2 separate regions of the Homo sapiens genome follow, and region 2 is linked to region 1. Evidence: promoter capture Hi-C in 16 types of primary human blood cells and fetal thymus (Javierre and others, 2016). All regions are on one chromosome and are shown on one strand. Each heading gives the region's core, a stretch centred on a gene start or on the middle of the fragment in contact. The rest is flanking DNA. Distances are from core to core; before and after follow the strand shown.

Region 1 (3,762 bases), core at 586-3,085:
TATATGAAACCTAAATCAATTTCATGTTTAGATTGGGGTCCCATCCCAAAGATATCTAACTATGTATATGCAAATATACCAAAATCTGAAATTTGAAACACTCTGGTACCAAGCATTTCAGATAAGGATACTCCAACCTGTAGTAAGACACAGCACCAGGACTTGAACTCAAATTTGCTCGAATTTGTACACTAAGCTAATGCAACTTACTGTCATCCTCTCTTGTTTTTTGGACCATTTTCAAGTATTCTTCAATCAATAAATTCAGAATAAACACAGACTAAAAATACCTAACTACACTTTCTTACCCCTTTAAAAATTAATCGCAGAGGTCGGGCACAGTGGGCACAGTGTCAAACGCCTGTAATACCAACACTTTGGGAGGTCGAGGCGGGAGGATCATTTGAGCCCAGGAGTTAGACCAATCTGGGCGACATAGTGAAATCCTGATTCTACCCAAAAAAAAAAAAAAAACTGATTGCAGAATTAGCATTCTCTGTAAGGGGAAAAATAAGACAATAAGCAACTTGCTTAGTCTCAAAGCTTAATGTCAAAAAAAATTAAACAGATGGGATATTTGGCTATTTATATTCTGAATTTCAACTGTGACACAAGACACAAGACCTGCTGGGGACAGGTATTAGTTGTAGTACAACCATATCTGAGGAACGTTTACTGCTTTATGCTTGTACCTGTGTGATACTGAAGGAAGGTTATAACAGCAAGAGATAGTTGTGTGTGCTGAGGAAGAAGAGTCTAAATTCTGGTGGGCCTTAAAATCCAGATGAAGTTTTAAATTGACTCCACAGGTGGTAACGCCCTAAGGTCACCTCTTCACTAGGAACCTGGCATAAAAACATCTGTATGGTTCAGATTCGTTTCCAAAGACACTTTCCCCCTATTTATTAACTAATTTGATCTTCGTATAGACATGAACCTGGTTTTAAAACTCAACTGACCTAGACTGGAGACTGGGGGATGGCAAGGTTATACCCGAAACATACTTTAGAGTTCAAAGCTTTCGCAGGAATATCACTTCTGCTGAAGCCCACAACCCTGGAAGGCCGCAGGGCAAAGAACATTAACCCCACTTTTCAGACAACGAAACCGAGGCTGCGCTAAACAGACTACTGTACAAAAGATCACAGGTCCAGCCAAGTGGCGGACTGAGACTTCCCCCAGGATATCAGACTCCAAATCCTGTGCTCCTTCCCGTACACAACTGAGAGGGGGCTGCACTCACAAACTTTAAAGATCGGACTTGGGGTTTTTCGCAGGCCTGCCAAGAAAAAGCAGGAAGTACATGCTCCTTTATAGATTGCTCACTCCCAGCCCGTAGCCCGGGGCTCCCGGGCAGCGGAGGAGGCTCAAAGGCGAGGCTCGAAGCGAAGCCCGGAAACCGCCGGCAGCCCTGGGGGCCCACGGCCCCGCAGCCCCGAGGGGGTAACCAGGGACCCCGCTCAATACCTGTTGAAACCCAGAAAAAGCACGTCCTTTCCGCCAGGATCATTTGGGGCGAGCGCCCAAAGCGAGCACGAGCCCCAGTGAGTGCAAAAGAGCCCCGGGAGGGTCCCTCTCAACCGCGGGCCCGCAGGGGTCAGAAGGCGGGAGCTTCCCAGTAACCTCCGCCCCAGGCAGGGGGCGGCCCCTCGCGTCACATGAGGAAAAAAAATACCAGCAACAAACGACGGAATGGAAGTCTTGTCCCGGGCTGTGAAGGGAGAAGTGGGGATTAAAAATCCTAGCTTGAGGTACAGAGGGAGGGGATACGGGGCTGGTTGTTACCGGCGCGCTGTTGCTCTCCGCTTCCGCCGTCTCCGCGAAGCTCTATCTCTTCCGCTCGCGCCGCTGGGGCGCGCGTCAGGCCTCGGCTCCGCCCCCAACGCCGTGGGGCCTTCTGGGGGTTGTAGTTTCCGCGAGGCCCGGCCGCGCCCACTGAGTTCAGGTCACGTAGGGGAGAAGCTGGCAAAATGGCGAGTGCCGGAGAGCATTTCTGCTCCTGTCCCTTCAACCCTTCCTCATTCCTCTCGGCTATATACGTGCGCAAATCTCCTTACATTCCACTCAATTATACCATCTCACTTCCTCCGTTCACAGCCAAGTTTTTTGAAAAAGATAATCTACACTGTCTCTACTTGCTCATCTGTGTTCACTCCTCATCGCAGCTTCCGCCCCCATGGAAAATGCCTTGTTGTCATAAGTGTCCTTGTTGCCAAACTCATTGGAGGTATTTCCGGACTCATCTAACTCAAGCTTTAGTCATTTGACGCTATTGGGCATTATCACTTATTTTCTATGACACTATCCAGGTTTTCCTTCTCTGAATTCATTCTACTTTGTTTCCTCTAACTTACCTCTAAAATATTGGTGTTTTCCAGAGTTCTTAAAATTGGGGTGGGAGAGGGGACACTCCAGTCCCTTCTCACCTGAGCTCATTGTTTGTATTCCCAACTTCCTAGACAAGACCTCTCCTCATCCATGCCCACAGGCATCTCCAGTGTCCTTGAAAAGTGAACTACTGGGGCCAGGAACAGTGGCTCATGCCTGTAATCCCAGCACTTTGGGAGGCCAAGGCAGGTGGATCACCTGCGGTCAGGAGTTCGAGACCAGCCTGACCAACATGGTGAAACCCTGTCTCTACTAAAAGTACAGAAATTAGCTGTGCGTGGTGGTGGGCACCTGTAATCCCAGCTACCCAGGAGGCCGAGGCAGGAGAATTGCTTGAAGGAGAATCGCTTGAACCCGGGAGGCGGAGGTTGCAGTAAGCCAAAATTGCACCACTGCACTCCAGCCTGGGCAACACAGGGAGACTCCGTCCCCCAAAAAAAGAAAAGTAAACTACTACCCCTCCTCCCTACTCATTAATATTCACTCTTTAACCTGATTCCTCCTTTCTCACTTCCTCTTCCTCCAATATTCAAATGGTCACCAAATCTTGGAGATTCTATTGTAGCAGGACGAGCCGCAGACAAAACCTCTCAGACACCAAGTTGTAGAACGAAGGGCTTTATTCAGCTGGGAGCATCGGCAAGCTACTGTCCTAAAATCCAAGCTCCCCGAGTGCACAATTTCTGTCCCTTTTAAGGGCTCACCACACTAAAGATTTCACATGAAAGGGTCGTGATTGATTGAGCAATCTGGGGTGTATGTGACAGGGGCTTCATGCAGTGGTAGTCAGAGTGAAACAGAACAGAGTACAATGTTCTTCCATACAATGCCTGGAATCTATGCTAAGTCATGAGTTGATTTTTAACTACTAGGTTTAGGCCAGGCAGGCCCAGGCCTGGTTTCAGGTCTGGTTTTGGGTCTGGTGCCTGGTGCTGGGCTGCCTGCCTTTGGTTTCACTTCCTTGTTTTTTTTCTTAAAACAGGTACTGAGTATAAAACAATATAAAACAATATGAGAGGGTCTCTTTCTTCTCTCACTATCTCCCAAGTACTCCTTGAATCTGTTCCTTCTTCAGGACTCCTAACTCATGACTCAGCTGCTCCTGTGGCCCCACCCAGAGGTGGACTCAGAGCATGAGGACTGTTTTCCACACCCCTATGATTTCATTCCCAACCCATCAGCAGCACCCATTCCCTAGCCCCCTGCCCACCAAAATGTCCATAAAAACCCTAACCTCTGAACCTTCAGGGAGTTTGATTTAAGATAACTCTGTCATCAATTAAATTCTTTACTGCTCTGCCATGGTCTCAGTGAATTGGTTTTGTCTGTGCAGTGGGCAGGAAAAACTCACCAGGCAATCAGAATCCAGTATTG
Region 2 (3,762 bases), core at 946-3,445, 2.4 Mb after region 1:
TCCTTATCACTCATCTCTAAAATTACTTCAACCAACAGTCTTTTGCCAACGCTAATAAATTCAGAAATAATTTAACACTATTTGAGAGTTGCCATTTAAATTCCAAACTTTGAAATCTAAAATAGTCTCTGATCAGATGTACAATGGAAATTTTATAGAAAGATCATTACATGGTAAATTGGTTGCAAAAAGAAGAAATTTTATAGAAAGAAATACAATCCTGAAATAAAATAAACTAAAAATATTCCTAAGGATTAATTCTAAAGAGTTCAACAAAACAATTTTTAATATATTTTTAAAATATTTAATGCACATCTAACATGTCCCAGACACTGTTCTAGGCATGGGGATATTTCAATGAACAAAACAGACAAAACTCACTATTTTTGGAATTTACATTCTAGTATATACATATGATCATATAATCTGAATAATATGAACTTGGCCTTTTCCTATAGAAATTACTAATAAGGTAAATAAATGTTTTAAGACCAAACACATATCTCCCATAGCTGTCTATCACACAACAACATAAAAACATATTTGAAAATATTTATAACACAGAGAGACTTTTAGCTACTGACTTCAAAACATTAGAAAATAAAGATCTTGTAAGAGAATTCAAGTAAAGTCAAATGTCCTAAAACTTACCTGAGTTAAATGATTCACTTGTAAAGGGAGGTGTTGACCAGATTTTAGGTAAGTGTACTAGATTTTAGATAACTCTTAACAGATGTTAATTTATATACTAAAACTAAATATCCAAAATAATCCAGATGTCAGAACCGTGGACATAGGAAAATACTGGGTCTAGGAGGAGCAATATTTTGATCATCTACAGTCCCACTGTACAATATGGTAGCTACTCACGTCTGTGGTTAACTTTGAATTAATTACAATTTAAAAATTAAAAATTCAGGCCAGGCACAGCGACTCACAGCTGTAATCCCAGCACTTTAGGAGGCCAAGGCGGGAGGGTCACTTGAGGTCAGGAATTCGAGACCAGCCTGGACAACATGGTGAAACCCCATCTCTACTAAAAATAAAAATAAAATTAGCCGGGCGTGGTGGCGCGTGCCTGTCATCCCAGCTACTCAGGAGGCTGAAACAGAAGAATCACCTGAATCCTAGAGGCAGAGGTTGCAGTGAGCTGAGATCACACCACTGCACTCCAGCCTGAGCGACAGAGCGAAACACCGTCTCAAAAAAAAAAAAAAAAAAAAAAATCAGCTCCTCAGTCACGCTAGCCACATTTCAAGCGCACAATTGCCACATAAGGCCGGTGACTACCATGCTGGACAGTGCAGCTACGGTACATTTCCAATACCGAAGGAAAGTCCCATGGCCCGCGCTGCTGTGGGGAATCGGAAGAGGCACGCCATTCCCGGGAAGAACAAAAACCTCCTAGAGAGGCTTAAAAAATTTGCCATTAACACGGGGAAAAAAATCTTCTATTTCCATTCCTCCATCTTATTTTCTCACCTCCTAGACAATGTTTCTTTTTTTTATTCTTTCTCTCCCTATTTTCTCACATTTTTCCTGCCCTTTTTTCTTATTTTTCTCTCACTGCTTTTTCTAACAACAAACATGCAGTCCATCTTTAATGATTTGATGCATTTCTTTAGGGTTTTCAAAATTTCTCAATGTTAAAATGTAAGGAGCTGAATGAACATTATTTCTAATGTGTTTTTTTTTTTTTTAAAAAAGCCATATTTAGAGGAGACTGTTTTTTAAGGTATGTGACCTTAGGTGTGTTTCCCCCACCTGAGAACATTATTCTTCCATAGAAAGGGTTTCTCACCGTTGGAATCCGGGGTGAAAAAAAATTTGCAATTCTAGTTCCGGCCTCTGGGGTTTCCTTGCACCGGAGGCCGGGCTCAGTCCTCTGGGCCGCGAAGTGGGCGCGGAACCTCTCGGTCCGCCGAACTCCTACCGCCACCTAGCGGAAGGAAGGCGCAAGGGCTTCTTCGTCACTGACGGTTGCCAGGCAACGGAGGCACGGCCCGGCCCGCGTTAAGGAGGAGGGCGCAGACCGAAGGACACTGAAAGAGCTGTAACAACCCCACTTTCGATTGGTTGAAGAGCTCTCAGCCTTCTCATGAGCCAATGAGAAGAGGCACGCGGATGGCGTCAGACGCTATGCGACTCCTCCCACCCACGCTCTGGCAATGCGATTGGAGACCGCGGAGGCCTACGTCGGACCCGGAGGCCCTGAATGCCCCATGCGCACCCCACAGCTCGCGCTCCTGCAAGTGTTCTTTCTGGTGTTCCCCGATGGCGTCCGGCCTCAGCCCTCTTCCTCCCCATCAGGGGCAGTGCCCACGTCTTTGGAGCTGCAGCGAGGGACGGATGGCGGAACCCTCCAGTCCCCTTCAGAGGCGACTGCAACTCGCCCGGCCGTGCCTGGACTCCCTACAGTGGTCCCTACTCTCGTGACTCCCTCGGCCCCTGGGAATAGGACTGTGGACCTCTTCCCAGGTGAGGGAAAACGTTGTGGGGGTGGAAACTTACTTCTGAGATCTAAAATTCTGTGAGCAAAGTTGAGCTGCCACAAAGCAGGAGTGGGGCTGTCGGAAGAAGGAGGGTGAGCACCTGGGAGAGTTTGGGGATCTTCATCCCACTCACTCTGTGTCGTACTTTCATAGTCTTACCGATCTGTGTCTGTGACTTGACTCCTGGAGCCTGCGATATAAATTGCTGCTGCGACAGGGACTGCTATCTTCTCCATCCGAGGACAGTTTTCTCCTTCTGCCTTCCAGGCAGCGTAAGGTGAGCTTCGTTGCTCAGACTGAATCCTAAAGGGGTTTGGGGCCTACAACGGGTAACATTTGGATGTAAGAAGAGTTAGTCTTTGTGCCTCCCACCCGTACTTCCACTCCTAGGACATTCCCTTGGTTTTTCCTAGGAATTGCCTTTTCTGATTCTCTAGAGCAGGGCTGGCCAGTAGAATAAGACCTTCGTGTCGTCCTATAGGTGCCCAAGGAGTCCTCTTTGGCATCATCTGGCCGATATTGCTGGGACACTCTTTTTTGGACCTGCCCCGCCCCTTCTAAATATATCTTCTCCCTCCTCTTTCCTCACAGGTCTTCAAGCTGGGTTTGTGTAGACAACTCTGTTATCTTCAGGAGTAATTCCCCGTTTCCTTCAAGAGTTTTCATGGATTCTAATGGAATCAGGCAGTTTTGTGTCCATGTGAACAACTGTGAGTAGAAACATGTTGGTTGTTCTCATTTTCTAACACAGGAGTGTTATATTTTGTCTTCCCTGGCCCACATTGGAAGAAGAATTGTCTTGGGCCACACGTAAAATACACTAACGATAGCTGATGAGTTAAAAACAACAACAAAAAAAAAGCAAAAAAAATGTCAAATGTTTTAAGAAAGTTTACAAATTTGTGTTGTTGGGCTGCATTCATAAGCCGTCCTGGGCTGCATGCGGCCGGTGGGTTGCAGGTTGGACAAGCTTGGTCTAACATTTATTGAGAATTGGCTTTTATTCTGGCCTTTTTTCCATTTCTTTTTTTTAAACTTTTTTTTTTTTTGTCCTTTGAATCTCTACGCCTCTTTCTGCCTCTTCTCTCTTATTACGGAATACATTTGCATTTTTGTTTTTTTTTGAGACGGAGCCTCCACCTATCGCCAGGAGTGCAGTGCAGTGGCACGATCTCAGCTCACTGCAACCTCCACCTCCCGGATTAAAGTGATTCTCCTGCCTTAGCTTCCCGAGTAGCTGGGACTATGGGTGTGTGCCACCATGACCAGC

What was found. Contacts are between HindIII fragments. The CHiCAGO score rates a contact against its expected background, and 5 or more counts as called.
Region 2: a contact is called between the fragment with the promoter of TCTN3 here and the fragment with the promoter of R3HCC1L in region 1, in 2 of 17 cell types (fetal thymus and total CD4 T cells). The highest score is 8.2, in fetal thymus.

Annotation. Positions count from the first base shown.
Region 1 is chr10:98,132,730-98,136,491 of GRCh38, reverse strand. It overlaps R3HCC1L (R3H domain and coiled-coil containing 1 like), which reads right to left and starts at 1,835. Exons shown (of 10, transcript NM_001351015.2): 1 at 1,786-1,835. RefSeq lists enhancers at 1,137-1,276, 619-1,408. The HindIII fragment of the contact is 1,235 bases long and covers 1,021-2,255 here.
Region 2 is chr10:95,692,360-95,696,121 of GRCh38, reverse strand. It overlaps TCTN3 (tectonic family member 3), which reads left to right and starts at 2,195. Exons shown (of 14, transcript NM_015631.6): 1 at 2,195-2,478; 2 at 2,646-2,769; 3 at 3,084-3,202. The coding sequence starts at 2,223. It also overlaps a transcript of ENTPD1 not described here. RefSeq lists enhancers at 1,235-1,736, 2,211-2,490. The HindIII fragment of the contact is 4,584 bases long and covers 1-3,464 here.